Linked DNA regions of Homo sapiens: regions 2 and 3 are each linked to region 1. Evidence: promoter capture Hi-C in 16 types of primary human blood cells and fetal thymus (Javierre and others, 2016). All regions are on one chromosome and are shown on one strand. The core of a region is centred on a gene start or on the middle of the fragment in contact, and the rest is flanking DNA. Distances in the headings are between cores, read along the strand shown.

Evidence for each region. Contacts are between HindIII fragments. The CHiCAGO score rates a contact against its expected background, and 5 or more counts as called.
Region 2: a contact is called between a fragment that was not itself captured here and the fragment with the promoter of CD47 in region 1, in 1 of 17 cell types (activated CD4 T cells). The highest score is 6.1, in activated CD4 T cells.
Region 3: a contact is called between a fragment that was not itself captured here and the fragment with the promoter of CD47 in region 1, in 1 of 17 cell types (neutrophils). The highest score is 5.9, in neutrophils.

The regions. Positions count from the first base shown.
Region 1 is chr3:108,088,998-108,093,896 of GRCh38, forward strand. It overlaps CD47 (CD47 molecule), which reads right to left and starts at 2,034. Exons shown (of 11, transcript NM_001777.4): 1 at 1,866-2,034. The coding sequence starts at 1,911. RefSeq lists silencers at 1,758-2,507, 2,528-2,577, 2,588-2,647. The HindIII fragment of the contact is 8,318 bases long and covers 1,229-4,899 here.
Region 2 is chr3:114,217,255-114,222,153 of GRCh38, forward strand. No RefSeq gene overlaps it. Among named protein-coding and RNA genes, the nearest start is that of ZNF80, 18 kb to the right of the region's middle. The HindIII fragment of the contact is 1,738 bases long and covers 1,925-3,662 here.
Region 3 is chr3:113,689,829-113,694,727 of GRCh38, forward strand. The region is part of intron 1 of USF3 (upstream transcription factor family member 3); the gene reads right to left. Among named protein-coding and RNA genes, the nearest start is that of USF3, 4.4 kb to the right of the region's middle. The HindIII fragment of the contact is 3,967 bases long and covers 154-4,120 here.

The sequences.
Region 1 (4,899 bases), core at 784-3,283:
TACAGATCCATCACTTTCTTACTCATTCTAGATTCTAAAGTCAGTCTCTCAAACCCTTGGTTTATAACTACCTATGTGCTGAGACATCTTTCTTCATACATGTCCTTTTGAAGCTATATATTAAACACATACAAAAACATATTTTATAACAAATACTATCCTGTTTTACAGTCCACACTTAACACAACTCAACTGCATAATGCCTGTATTTTGCTTTTTTTTTAGGTTAATATTAACTAAGTAAAATAAAATACTATAAATTCTGAATTCGATGACTCTAGGGATTCGAACACATTAAAATTGTGTGTAAACGAGTGCTAATTACATGATATTAACTATTACTAAAGAAGGCCTAACATAAATCCTATCACTCAAAGTACCATTCCAACAGTTCTAAACTACGTGATTTAAATCTAACCTACCTGTTTTAAAAATAGTATATGGTTTATACTTTTTACTTTTTAGGCAGTTTGAATAAATGATACTGTATCACTTCATATCTGGTTCAATATGAAGGCGTTCTGAAATTATTATGCGATTATACAACACATCTCTGAAAGCAGTATTATTTTAGCTATAATGATAGTAAAGGCAACAAGCATACTAAACGTGATGACAGGAAACACTAACATCAACCATTTAGATAACGGAGACCTGGATTCACAGTCCCAACATCCAGGATGCTCGGGGAGGGAGGAAAGTGGTAAGCAGAGACTTAAGGGCATCTTGGAAATACCTAAAGTCACAAGCCTTTAGGAACGGCACACCGAGGCTAATAATCAGTTTAAAATCGAATTAATTTAGCATTCTAGAATAAATGTAACAATTGCTGTCACTGGTGCTCAAGCTGAATTCTGAATCTTATAAAAGTTCACAAAAGGCTCTATGGATGTGAAGTGTGACAGGCACTCACTGTAGAGCTACGAATGTTTCTATTCCTTGCTCAGTTTTTACAGACGAAGCACACGTTTTACAAAAGCGAAATGGATTCCAAAAGCTCGGGGTGGGGGTGGGGGGGTGGAGGTTCTTTGGCGTCGAAAAACACCAAATCCCATTCTGCTGCACATGTTTTGACTGGAGGTTACTGTCTTCCTATTTCAGGCGAAAACCAGATTACTTTTAAAACGGTTCCCCCAAATAAAGTGGGAAAAACTTCAACGTACAATTTAGAATGTATGCAAGTGGCTGATGGGGCGTGAGGGTCACGAGAAAGGAAGAGTTTCCAGCAAGCTTATTTTTAGGATTAAAAACGACAGCAAAAATTACACGGCCGGAAGATTCTTCTGATTGAATGCTGAGTTGAAAATGAAACTTAATTGTGTCCTTTACGTCCTCTTCGCTCCTATGTTCATGTGGGAGGCAAACGGCAGAAACCCCTTCTCACCGACTTCGCCAAAATGCGCACTTCCATCGCAAGAGGCCCGGGCCCTCCCACTCTCCCTCCCTCAACCCCAAATGCGTCTAAGCACTGAGAAGGGAGAGGGGTGCGAAAGAAGGGGATCCCTAGCAGCTGCAGCCCCTTGCCTCTGATCGCGCCCTTTCTTGCTAGTTAATTTTTGCGCGAGGTGCGCGGTTTGGAGTCTTCCTGTGTGTGTGCATTTGGAGATGGAGAACCGGGTGGAGGAGATGAGCCCCGCTCTCACCCAGGGGGAAGAAGACGACCAGGGAAAGGAAGGGAGGAAGAAGGGGGGCGCCCGATTCCCCGTGGGGCCCTCCCACGTCTGCACTTCGGGCGCTCAGGGCCCGAGTGTTCTGCGCCCCGGCCACCCTCTTCAGGGCGCCGCCGGGCTGGCTGGGGCGCAGCCCACACGCCCGCGGGGGCGAAGCGACAGCAGCCGCAGGGCTGGGAGCGAGGAGCCACTCACCGCAGCACGCCGAGCCCAGCAACAGCGCCGCTACCAGGGGCCACATCTCCGCGCCCGCCGCGGGGTCGCCGCCGCCGCCGCAGGTGTCCGGAGCAGCAGCCGCCGCCGCCGTTACAGGCAGGACCGACCGCCGCCGCGCGTCACAGGCAGGACCCACTGCCCAGGCTGCACGGCCGCGCGCACGCGCGCTCCCACTGCTTCCCGCCCGCTCCCCCGCCTGCTCCCCGCCCGCGAGAGCCGCGCACGCGCACTCGGCCCCGCCCCGCAACCGCTGCTGTTGACGCGGCGCCCTCCCCAGTCGCAGGCTCCAGACCCGGGGCCCGCCTGCCCGCTCCACGGAGGCCGGATGCCTGCTCCAGGGCGGTGGCACGCGCCGCGCTTCCAGGTCACGTCCTGTCGCACCCGCCCGCCCCTGGGGTCCGCGTGCTCGCCCGCCGCAGGAGGCTGAACCCTGTGTTCCCACGCTCGCCGGGGACCTCATTGCACCCGTTCCTGTCCGCGGGTCGGTTCCTGCCTTTCGCGCGGCGCTGGGCCCCACTGTCCTCTCTCTCTACTTTTCTCCTCTTTGCTTTCACTCCCACCCTCGCGCTTCAGGGGCCGGGTCCCGTCCCGCCCCAGCCCGCGTCTCTCCCTGGACCCGACGTCCGGCTGCGCGCGTGGACCAGGACACCTAGGCTTTCACCAGCGCCCGTTTCCTCCGGACGCGGCCGTCTAGCGCCGAAGCGGTCCCTGAGCCCGAGGCCGCCACGCCCAGGGCAGGGCGGTGGTCGGGTACCTGCCCGCAGGGAGCTTCCACTCGCCCCTCGCGGGCTCTGCGTTCGGCTCGTCTACTCGCTCTGCTCTTCCCTATGCGGTTCTCTTCCCTCTTTCTCACTTGGTTCTTTAGTGTTTTCATCCTCTGATCAGGGTTAATCAAACAAGTTCCATTCACGGTGGTAAACATTGTTACCTGTGAACACCGCCACCACCGGGACTAGCGAGCATTGTCGCAAACAGGCATTAGCAGCGTATCCAACACATCCCCACCAGCAAGGTTATTGAGCTTGGTTTGTGACTGCCCCATGTGCAGCCCTCTGCGCTGCGCTTGGGTTTAACATGCTTGAAAAATGGGTTCGAAATGTGGCCGCAAGCCACAATAGGGACAAGGCTTTTGAATTTATCGCTGAATCACACAGGCCACATCATTCATCCTGAAGCAAAAGTCTTTTAAAGATACTTTTAACCGTTATCCTAACTGATGTACTCTCTTATCAAAAAGTCAGGCTCTGGTGGCTGCTCTAATGGAGTGCACATCCTGTCCACCTCCTTGATTGTTTTCCTCCTACCTCCTGGGAAAGAAAGCAATTTCCCACCACAATACCCCACTTCTCCAAATCCTCTACACAGTGCGGCTCCTCCCAAGCATCCCATTGCCACAGAAATAAAATCCAGCGTATGAAAGTGGCACTGTCTATGACACTCTGTACCAGTGTATTGTATACTATCGAGCTTCTTCCTGTAATTGCTTTTTTGTGTGAACCTCTTCCCCACAGCATTATCAATTCTTTTAAATCCGAGAGCATTTTAAGTATTCCCTCCTCCAAGACTTTCCATTGAGCTCGGCAAACAGAAGGGGTTTAATAAATGTGTTGATGCGGCGTGAGGCAGGCATTGCTCTAGTGAAATTTGATTGCTTTTTTAATGATTGAAAAATAAAAACAATTGCCTGGCAGACATCTCACTAAAACAATGGTTAATAATTATGGTGGTAATGATTTGAATGGCAGCCTTGACACCCCGAGGCAACCAAAGGGACTCATCGATTCTCCTCCAACTGCTGCTTATGTGGATACAAAAGAATCATCCACCAGACTTTGAGCATTAGGGACATTGTGTATCACAGAGCAGCTGGTTGGCTAAATAAGGCTGTCAGCTGTCCCTGATACCAACCAACCCCCCTAAAGCTGAAGAGTGACTAGAAAGGACTGTCCCCAACCTTCAGAGGTGGAGATCGGGTGATGTTCTGTTTTACACTGGGAGCTACTGAGCTATATGCTTAACGTCTTTTTGTGCAGAAAATGGAATGAGAGGCCACCTGGGTGACCACTGCTGCTCTTGGGAATCTAGCTGGGGTATGTTTTGGTGGTGGGGCAAAAGCAGGCATATCCCAGGAGAGACAGTCCAAAGCAGCCTGCCTAGGTTTGATTATCCTCTCTCTGAGATAACCTTAAGCTCTTTTCAGTATTTAATCATTTTAAAGGTTTGCCTTTTAACTTTTCAAAGCATTTTAATTTGGATGTTGAGCTCATCTTATCTGTATGTAAGGAGTTTCTTGGGTAGAGAGGGAGGGGATAATACATATTAGAATGTTTTGAACACAGGAAGTACACATTAGCTATATCACCTAAGTTAATCTTCATAACAACCTCAGAAAGGATAAATGTTATGATCTCCCTTTTTGAGATGAGGAAACAAAGGGAAAGAGGAATGGTGAGCACTTTGCCCACAGTTATAAGTGACACTGCTCTCTCTCTTGTCTCTCTCCCTTGTTCTGGTTTTCATCCTTTTTTCTTTTTACCCTATAATAGCAAAGTTGCTACAGTTTCCCCTTTACAGATAAATAAACTTAAAAAAATCACTCTTGTCACCTTTATAGATAAGGAAAGTGAGGCTTGGTCACAAGCTCAGGGAGGGACGGTGGTTGGACTGAAGTCTCCCTGACTCCATGGCCAGCGAAAAAATTCACAAACTTCCTCTCTCAATGCATAAAAAATTTCCCTTGCCCTCATTTCTGTCTCAACGATACATCTACTTTTATCTTCCTCCCCACACAACATCAAGATCCTGCCACATAGTAGGTATTGATATGATAGTATCTTTAAATGTTTATGTAGATACAATTGTATCCTTATTGTAACTTCATTCAGCAAATGTTTTGCCCCATGGTGGTGTGTCATGCAACGACATGAGACAGTGCTGTCTCCTGGTGCCCCAAGGGGTTGGCTTAGAACTGTATGTGCCTACCTACTCATAGTCTGTGCTTTGTGTAGGGCCA
Region 2 (4,899 bases), core at 1,544-4,043, 6.1 Mb after region 1:
AATGAGGCAATGTCTGAAATGCATTTATCACAGTACCTGGTGCAGAGTGAGTATGGATAGATTTTTAATTGAAGCAGTTTTATCAGCTATCTAGGTCACCAGAGCCCCAGTATTTCTGAAGGGACAGAATGAGCTTTTGGCAGGTACTGAGGAGCTTCTCAAGGAGGGTGAGCACAGATGCTGACTTAGCCATGAGAGGCACAGTTCAGAGAGGAGGGTAAGGAAAACAGGCCCACAGCCAAGACAGAACAATTAAATATGTAGGGAGCTGAGAGACTTGACAGAAGAAGTGGAAGTAAAACATGTTTCTAGTCAGGGCTATGAGGAGGGTTGCCTGGAGGCTCTATTGGTAATTGATGTGCCTCTGACAATAATTAGAAACAATTTCTGGGGACTTACAGGGTACAATCACCTAGTGATATTATTTACCACAGAGAGTAGTGTCTGAGTTGAAAATGGATGTTATTGTTTCCTGAGAGCACATTACAAGGTGACTTCATGGTGAATAGATTTTTCAAGATATTTGACATTCATTGACTTTCTATTTAGCTCCTCTTACTCACAGAGGCCATTACTCTAATGACAATACCTGGATTTATCTCTGTTAATGGCAGAAGACATGTGAAAGATAAATCCTCGTTGTGTGGGCCTCCAAATCATGAATGCGACAGCTTTGCCTTCCCAAGCCTCTTAGATACCTAAGGGATTCTGAGAGTGTGGAAGGCCCAGGGCATAGCCTCACCCCAGTTCAAGAAATCCTCAACCACTAATGCCAAGGGACCGGACTAGCACAAATTGTCTTGTCTTTTTCTAATGTGAGCTTTATTTTATGTCACTTGGGACTAAGTAACATAGTGTATATAAAATAGCACAGAGCCTGGCTCATAGTGAGCACTCAGGAAGTGTTGACTCAAGAATTATTGTTTTCTTGAGTTCTTCTGATAAGACCTAGGGGGCCTCCCATATTTGGCATACTTCAAGCCCTGGGGAAGGGATCAGGGTTGGGGGAGAATCAGTGGCATTTGGACAATGGTGCTGGAGAGCGGTATTCCCCTGAGGAATCCCAAGATTCGGTGGCTTGGTTTTTCTTTCAGTTGGCTTCTCTTTGTGTATAAGCTTGGAGGCAAGATGCCAAATTACAGCTCACCTACAAGGGTATTACATAGGGGTTTGAAGTCAAAGCTTTATAGATTGAACAGTATCAATTTGGCTTCCATTCCTTCTGCATTGGAAGTCAAATGGGAACGGAGATAGGGTCCAGGGAAGGAGACAGGAGGGGGCATCTATGATTGTAACCTAGCCTCCAAGCTGAGGGACAAAAGGAGTCCCAACAGCTTATCCCATGTTCTAGCCCAGCTCGCCGAGATGGGAAACAATACTTAAGGCATGTTGAAGTCTAAGCCCTACAGATGGTTTCCCAAAAGAGCGTTATTGGCATTTTGGGAGGAACGATTCTTTATTGGGTGGGACTGCCCCTGGCAGTGCAGGGTTATAGAACACCTGTTGCCTGTGCCCATTACATGTTGATAGAGTCTCCCATCCACAGGCACTGCGATAACCAAAAATCTCTACACATTTCATAACTTGCCCAGGTTGAAAACCTTAGTATGAGTGACAACACGCCTGGCATGTCCTCGGTGCAAATAGACTTCTCTGCAAATGTGACTGCACACCAGCTGGCTGGCCAGCTACCTGGCCTCATCTGAGTCACTCCCTCGTCGCAGTTTGAGAATGGTGGAGGCTGGCAGAGCAGTCTCCCGAGACTGAACAAGTATTTAAAGACTGTAGATCCTGGCTGTCCCCTTCGTGGAGATGCGACCCTCTGTGCAAGGGCTGTATTAGTCACACTACCTTCAGTCATGCATAAGTGTCCCAGTTCATCACATACCACCTGCAGAGGGTGTGTTTACTCTGAAGCTAATGAAGCTTTAAGATTTGGAGCCTCTTTCAAGGCTCGTGTATGAAAGAAACTTGATAGAATTCCCAAATTTGAAACAATCCTAAAATTTTATATGACATTACCAATAACGCCTCATCTGAAAAATTTGGCTGTGGAATGATATTAAGAATAGCTACAAAGTGTTACAAGTCTGCGTGTGTCAGACAATATATACTACATGCTTTCAACCTTCCCGTGAGTTCATTTTTTATTATACTTATTTAATAATTGAGGAAATTGAAGAAGAGGGAAGTCAAATGCCTTGCCTAAGATCACACAGGCAACAGGGCTAAGCATCAGGATTTGAACTTCAAACTTTCTGATTCCAAAGCCCCACATGCTCTGGATTAGGTTACACTGCCTCTCAGGCAGGGGTCATAATTAATGCATGGAGATGCTGGTTCAAGTAAAGGTGTGAAGAGTGGGACTCCTGGGCTTATCTGACCACAGTGGGTGAAGGACAAGTGCAGGGTCCCTGAGGAGATGCGTGTTTGGCTGACAGGGCAGAGAGTGTGCTAGCAGGCTAAGGGGGAAATCCCTCTGGGAGGGATGGCAAACAGACAGAGGTGGAAAGTTGAAGACATTGACCAGGAAGAGTCAAATGGTCTGTTTTGAATCTCAGCTCAATCTGGAATGTTCTGTTCCTGAAAAAGGAGTGACGTTCCCCTCCTCTTTGCTGACTACATAACACAGAGCCCTCAGATTTGCAAGTTAGAGAGCAGAGGTGCAGGGTCAGGCAAGCGGACAGAAAAATCAGCAGCAAGTATTTCCCTGGCAGACTGTACTGGAGGGAGCAGCCATCTGAGGAGAGTTGTTGGTAAGGATTTGGCATTTGAAGTATTTTTGAACAAGTGCAGGTGCTGAGAATGTATATTTTCAAAAAAAATAGTAAATAAAATAAAGTCACCTTACAAGAAAGAGACAATGTGAACTAATGTGGGCAAGAACGGCACCCATTTGTCAGAGAGAAAAAGGATGTCACAGTAGGAGAACTCCAGAAGGGTCAGAAGGAGACACATTTTCTTACCCACAATAGGCGAAAGTGTTTCTCCAGTTTGTCAGTGAAGAAGGGTTAGAAATGTACATGAGAAACCCCTTTTATATCACTGATTCAGTCTTGTGTACAATAACGCTTAAATAAACAATGTGTAGTGTTCATCACAATATAGATTCATATTACCAACGACTCTCTTTTTTTGCCATTATAAAGAGTTAAGGATTCCCTGTGTAATTTGACAATTAGCAAAATGAAAATGCACATCTTACCAGTCACTTGTTGGAATGTATCTTACAGAACTACTAGCATGGGTATATAAAGATATAGGGACAAACAAATTTATTATAGCACTTGTTGAATAAATTATGGTTCGGCAGCAGTGGTTTACTACCAGTCATTTCACAAGGTTTGAATAGATGTGTTATATTAAGTGAAAAAAGCAATGTGCAAAAAAATCTTGTGCAGTGTGCAGTCTTATTAAGAAACACTGTACATGTGTGCATGTGCCTATATGTAATTGTATAAACAGAGGAAAACAGTCTGAGAGGACAGTGGATACATTTGAGTGCTGAAGTCAGAAATAAGAAAGGATTCTCACTTTTTAATTTATATCCTTCTCAAAAAGGTAGAAGTGGTGGGATTGTGGGTGATTTTTACTTATTTATTTTTTGTGCCTTCTTTATGTTTTCCCAAATTTCCTATAGAGAACCTGTGTTCTGTAAATGAAGCTTTTATGATTAAGCTTCATTTCTGCCTGGGAAGCAGTGCAGTGTAGAGGCTAAGCCTATGGGTTCCGAAGTCGGAATACCTGGGTTTACATTCCAGCTCTACATCTATGCAGGGGATGATGATTGTGGATGAATGACTTCGCCTCTGTGTGCCATAGTTTCCTCTTCTGTAACATGGAGGTACTAACAGTATTCCAGTCCATGAGACTGTTGGGAGTATTGCGTGAGACCCTTTGTGTAAAGGGTGTGGTCAGGGTGTAGGAAGTGTTGGCCATTATTATTGGATGTGGAAAGATCAAGCTCAGGGGCACAGGTAGACAGATTGATGTGAGCAAAGGGCTATGCTTTCCTCGTTTTCCTCTGAGACTGGAGAGAAAGAGCCCAACTGGCGGCAGAAACAAGCTGCTGCAAAGAGGAGAGTAGAGGCTGGACTTGCTCAGGTTGCTTTTCTTCTCTTGTTAGAGAACAGGAGAGAGAGCCACAGGGAGAAGATCTGGAATGACCTTTTGTTTCAGTTCCTGCCCACCTTTCTTGTGGTCCAGCAGTCATTTCCTTTCTTCTGCAGGCCTTATTCCTGCCCAATTCTCTGGGAATGGAGAATGAATGTGTGCGCCAAGGGCCTGTCCTCACCCCTTTCCACTGAGAGGTAGGGACAAGGGATTCCACTTTTCCTTCCAAGTTTTGAAATCCCCTAAGCAAATCCTGTCCAGGCTGGACCCGTCACAGTATTTCATCAGCTTCCTCCATTCTGAGGCTTGGACAAATGATTAGACACCAGGAGCTGGGTTCTGCCCACAGCGGAAATTGGTTTCTCAGAATTTACTGTTTGACGCTAAAGCCTCGGTTGCTGAAAATGACTCATGGCTCCATTTGTGATTCGTTTTCAGATAAATCACAGGCCAGACAATCCAGTGTATTTGAAAGCCACAGTGGCCGATTCAGGGTCTCAGCATGTTTAGGCTCTTTGACTTGACTGGTTAATGTACCAGGAAAGGCCTGAAGTAGGTAAAAAGGGTCACCTGTTGGTCATATAAAGACAACTATACACCGAAAAACAAGTGAGCATTATGGGAGCTTCATGTCTGAGAGCAGCCTTCCCTCATGTTAGCTTAGATGGCAGCTATGCCAGTTTGCTCTTGAGATCAATCACAGCTCTAAGAATTCAGGTGCAGACACACATGCATTGTCACTATCCAAGATGCTTCAGAGCATCTTGGCCACATCCAAGATGCTTC
Region 3 (4,899 bases), core at 887-3,386, 5.6 Mb after region 1:
CTCTCCTAGGTTATCTTTCTCCTCTCCAATTATGCATCCTCTTTCTCTAACATGAACGCTTTTCTTTCTCCTTTGAGTTCCAAGGCCCAACAATCTCTTCTCTTTTTCAGGTTTGCTTTTTCCCTACAAAGGTTTAAACTGCTTCTGTGCAAAAGCTTTTATGTTTTTGTAAGAAAGCTACCTTTCAACTCTGACTTTGCCCCTAATCTTTGGTTAGGCAAAGCTCTCTTCAGAACACTGCATTTTGAACAAATTAACAAGTCTGTTTGGAATGTGTTAAATTCCCTTTTCTCTTAAGAGATCTATTTCCAAGTTCTCCATTTTATCAATGACACCAAAAGTTTAACATGGATCTAGACCCAAAAATCTTCATATCTTCTCACCAAATTCTATCAATTGTTTTCATAATGTTCATCTCTTCCCCTTTGTTATGACCACCTTAGATTAGGCCCCATTTTACACGTCTGGCCTTAAGCAGTCTTTGTTATTGCCCTCAGCCTTTCTCCCATTTGATGGATTTTATACCCCAATGTCTCATCAGTCTTTTCAGTTCACCATATTTACCATGTCCTCTCCTGCTGCAGACTCTACAGTACTATTTCCCACAATCAACTGCATCATATCCAAACTCCAGGTCTTGGCATTCATGACTGTACCTTCTTCACTGGCAGGTCTCACCTACCCCCTTCCACCTAGTACAACACACATAAAAGCAGGTTTTCTAGCTAATTATGCCATCTACCCTTCCCTCCTCTTCAATTCAGACAGGTTTATCCCTGTGCGCCTTATCAGCTACTTCACTTTATGCTAAATTCATGCTATTTTCCCACTGAAATGACCTTTCCACTTTGCTCTGTTTATCCAAATCCTACCAACCCTTTAAAGTCCGGTGCAAGTCTATCCTCCTATATAAAATCTTCCCTAATATTTCTAGCAAAACTAAACCCTCTACCTATACTCTGGACTCTATCACTCTCGCTACTTAGTAAACTTCTTACATAATGTCCCTTTTCTCTCATATATTATTAATCCCTCCTTCTCTCTTAGTGCCTTTCCATTAAAAATATCCTTATTCAGGGCCAGGCACGGTGGCTCACACCTGTAATCCCAGCACTTTGAGAGGCCAAGGGAGGTGGCTCACTTGAGCTCAGGAGTTTGAGACCAGCCTGGGAAACAAGGCAAAACCCCATCTCTACCAAAAATACAAAAAATTAGCCAGGTGTGGTGCTGCAAACCTGTAATCCCAGCTAATCAGGAGCCTGAGGTAGGAGGATGGCTTGAGCCCAGGAGGCGAAGGTTCCAGTGAGCCAAGATCGCACCACTGCACTCCAGCCTGGGAGACAGAGTGAGATCCCATCTCAACAAAAATAAAAATAAATCCTTATTCAACTTTTTCCATGTAAAAACCTAAACTGATTTTTCTCCTGACCTTGCAACTCCCCACAGGTGTCCCCATTCTTCCTCCCAACCACCAGTCTTCTTGAACAAGTTGTTTACACTTACTACCCCCTCTTCCTCACTTCTTATTCACTCTTCAACCAGCTGTTACCTGACTTTTATTCCTAAAACTGCTTAAACCAAGCTCAACAAAAGACTTCCACACTGCCAAATCCGATGAACTTTGTAATAAATCTGTTGTTTTGGCCTTCTGACAATAATATCCTGCCTTTCCTTCGGAGATCTTCTCTGTCCCATTCCTGAAATCTGATAGGACCATCAAACACAGGCTCACCTCTGGGGTGGGCATGGGGCTAACTAATAAGACTCCCTGCACAAGGAGAATATCTTGCTGAGGCTGAGTTAGCCCCATGGATCCTTATGATCCTGGGAGCTTCTGTTTTCCTGGCCTTCCCAAGCCTTCATTATTCTATCTCCCTTTCTTTCTGTGAGTTTATCCAGTATCCATTTGCTGCTTAGCCAAATTCAATCTCTATTGTTTATAACCAAAGAGAAACTGGTCCCTCAAATGACACAGAGGTAGACAGCGGTGACACTACAATTTCTTCTCCTTATCTCCTTCTCTTTGGTTTCTGCTGTTTAAGGAATTCCTGAGAACTCTTCATTATCCTCTTTAAAGATTTCTCTGACCCCTAGAGCAGTGGTCCCAACCTTTTTGGCACCAGGGACTGGTTTCGTGGAAGACAATTTTTCCATGGACAGGGAGTGGAGCAGATGGTTTCAGGATGAAACTGTTCCATCTATCTCAGGCATTAGATGATCATAAGGAACATGCAACCTAGATCCCTTGCATGTGTGGTTCAGAATAGGGCTCGCACTCCTATGATAATCTAATGCTGCCGCTGATCTGACAGGAGGGTAGCTCATCTCCTGCTGTGCGGCCTGATTCCTAACAGGCCACTTGGGGACCCCTGCCTTAGAGGTTAGACTAAATACCCTTCTTCATACTCCCAAACATCCTAATACTCCACAATGTCTTAACATGAAATACAATCTATATACTTACTAGTTTTCACCACCAGACTATAATAAATGGTAGAAACTTATTACTCCATTACTGAGTGCTAATTATTGAGAATACAAATATGTAAAAAATTCATATTATTCATATTACTGAGAATACAAACATGAAAAAAAATTTCATGTTTGTATCCTCAACAATTAGCACTCAGTAACTGAGTAATAAATGTCTGCTGAAAGAATATCTGGTCTTTCCTTTTTTTTGTATTAATCATTATGTCATAGATTTTACATACTTATGTTTAATTTAGCATCTAATGAATACTCCATTGAGTTCCTTAAACAATCCTAATAAGTCTAAAACGTTCTTATGAGCTGAGTCCACCATTTACTATTTCTGTATTCTCTTCAGTACCTAACAGTGTTGGGCACATGGTAAATAATAAATACTTGGTGAACTGAATTAAAAACACAGTATTAGCACACTAATAGAAACAACTTATCATGTCCTACTGATCTAATTAAAAGATCTGGCCTTCTGAAGTAGTGCAATTGTCCCCATATGGAAATTTTAATGAGAAAAAGAAAAATTATCCAATTGGACAGTTAACCACGTTTCTTTTAGCAAGAGTTCCACAAATATTTTATGAATAATAAATGTATACCTTTACAGCACAGAGTAAAAGACTCAGGACACATATATGCCTGTGCATACTGGAAGGAAGATTACATATTTAAGGGGTCTGTCACAACTACAATCACTTAGATTCTACTAACCTTTAACAAATCTATAATAGGAGTATAGGACATAAAAATATTTAATAGCAAAATCAATTAATGCCAAATCAACTTACGTTCAAGATGTATATGGCTATCTTTTTATAATATATAACATGGCAGTCATTTACTCATTTAAGAACATTTATTAACTGCCTAGTAATCACAAATACAATGTTAGGTCCCAAAAATACAAAGATAAAAAGAACACATTTCCTATGTTAGTGGAGTTCTATTTCTGCCATGTTGCAATGGTATTCAAGAATATGTGAATGGTACCCCCTGGAGTTGCTCAACATGGAGGCCCTGGTTAGCAGTATGGTGGGGAAGGCATATAAACACATACTTATGGCAGTGTGCTAAGTGCTAGCACAGAAACAAGTACAACTGTTACGGGGCCACGGAAGATAAATCATCTACTAATGAAATTAAGAAAAGATATGAAAAAAACGGATGTCTATACAGGAATTCAATGCTAGTTAAGGTATGATGAAGCTACTAACATACCTAAGATGAAATCAAACCTAAAACTATGGTTGCAGGAAGAGTCAGAAGGGTTCCAAACCAAACCAATCCAACTTAAAACCACTGTGAAAGAGATGAAAAATAAAATATTCCTTAGCATAACATTTGAGAACAATGAAACACATACACATAGAACTTAAACTGCCACATACCGTAAGCCTAAAGAGAATCTTTTAACCATGTAGCATAGAAGTTCAAAGGGGGTCGATCACTAAGAACTAGAGTAAGCTATCCAGAAAACTTTCATAAAAGTGTAATTAGAACTATTATTGGCGGTAGGGAGGAATAGAGGAAAGGTGTCCATATCCTGAGAAAGGTCAACGTCAACGTCTGTAGCAAAAGCAGTGGGGGGAAAGTTGGACACATGAGTGAGGCCTGATTTAGGAAAGCCCAGAACACAAGCTTAGCTTTTGGACGTAGTCTCATGGGAGTTCTCAGCCAGGGCTACTGAACAGAATCACCTGGAGAGCTTTAAAAAATATGCCCATGGCAGAGCTTTACTCCAGATCAAAAATAAGAGAGTTTCTGAGGGAAGTGGCCTGGGCATTAAAACTTAAAGACACACAAGGTGATGCTCATGTACAGTCTGGATTGAGAACTACTGGACTAGAGAACAGAGAGGTAAAGCATGACAGATATGATTAAGGCTCAAGCTTGATTTAAGACCCTGTTTATAAGCAACAAACTTGAGCTGATTACCTGTTGAAGCTTGTATTCTAACCTGAGTTAAAAATTCTCAGTTTTCTTAGTGTTTCTTTTCCCTTGTTGACAAGGCTAAGCTCTGAAAATAGGAAAAGTACCCATCAATTTCTCATACATGACTGGTTCATTGAGTGTAAGGTCTACAACCTTAGAATTTTACTTCCACGATGTTCCATAGACGACTAACCTAGAAGATAAGTACTTCAATTCTAAGCTGCTCTTACATCCCTGCAATGCACTCCTTTTATATCAGCGAATGTTCTAGGCTGCATCCAGATTTTGCAAAACTCCTAAATACAGGGAGATCCCAATACCTATGTACACCTAAGTCTTTTAGCTTAGACCAGGAGTGTCCAATCTTTTGACCTCCCTGGGGCACACAGGAAGAAGAAATGTCTTGGGCCACCCATCAAATACACTAACACTAACGATAGCTGATGAGCTTAAATAAATAAGTAAATAAATATCACACACAAA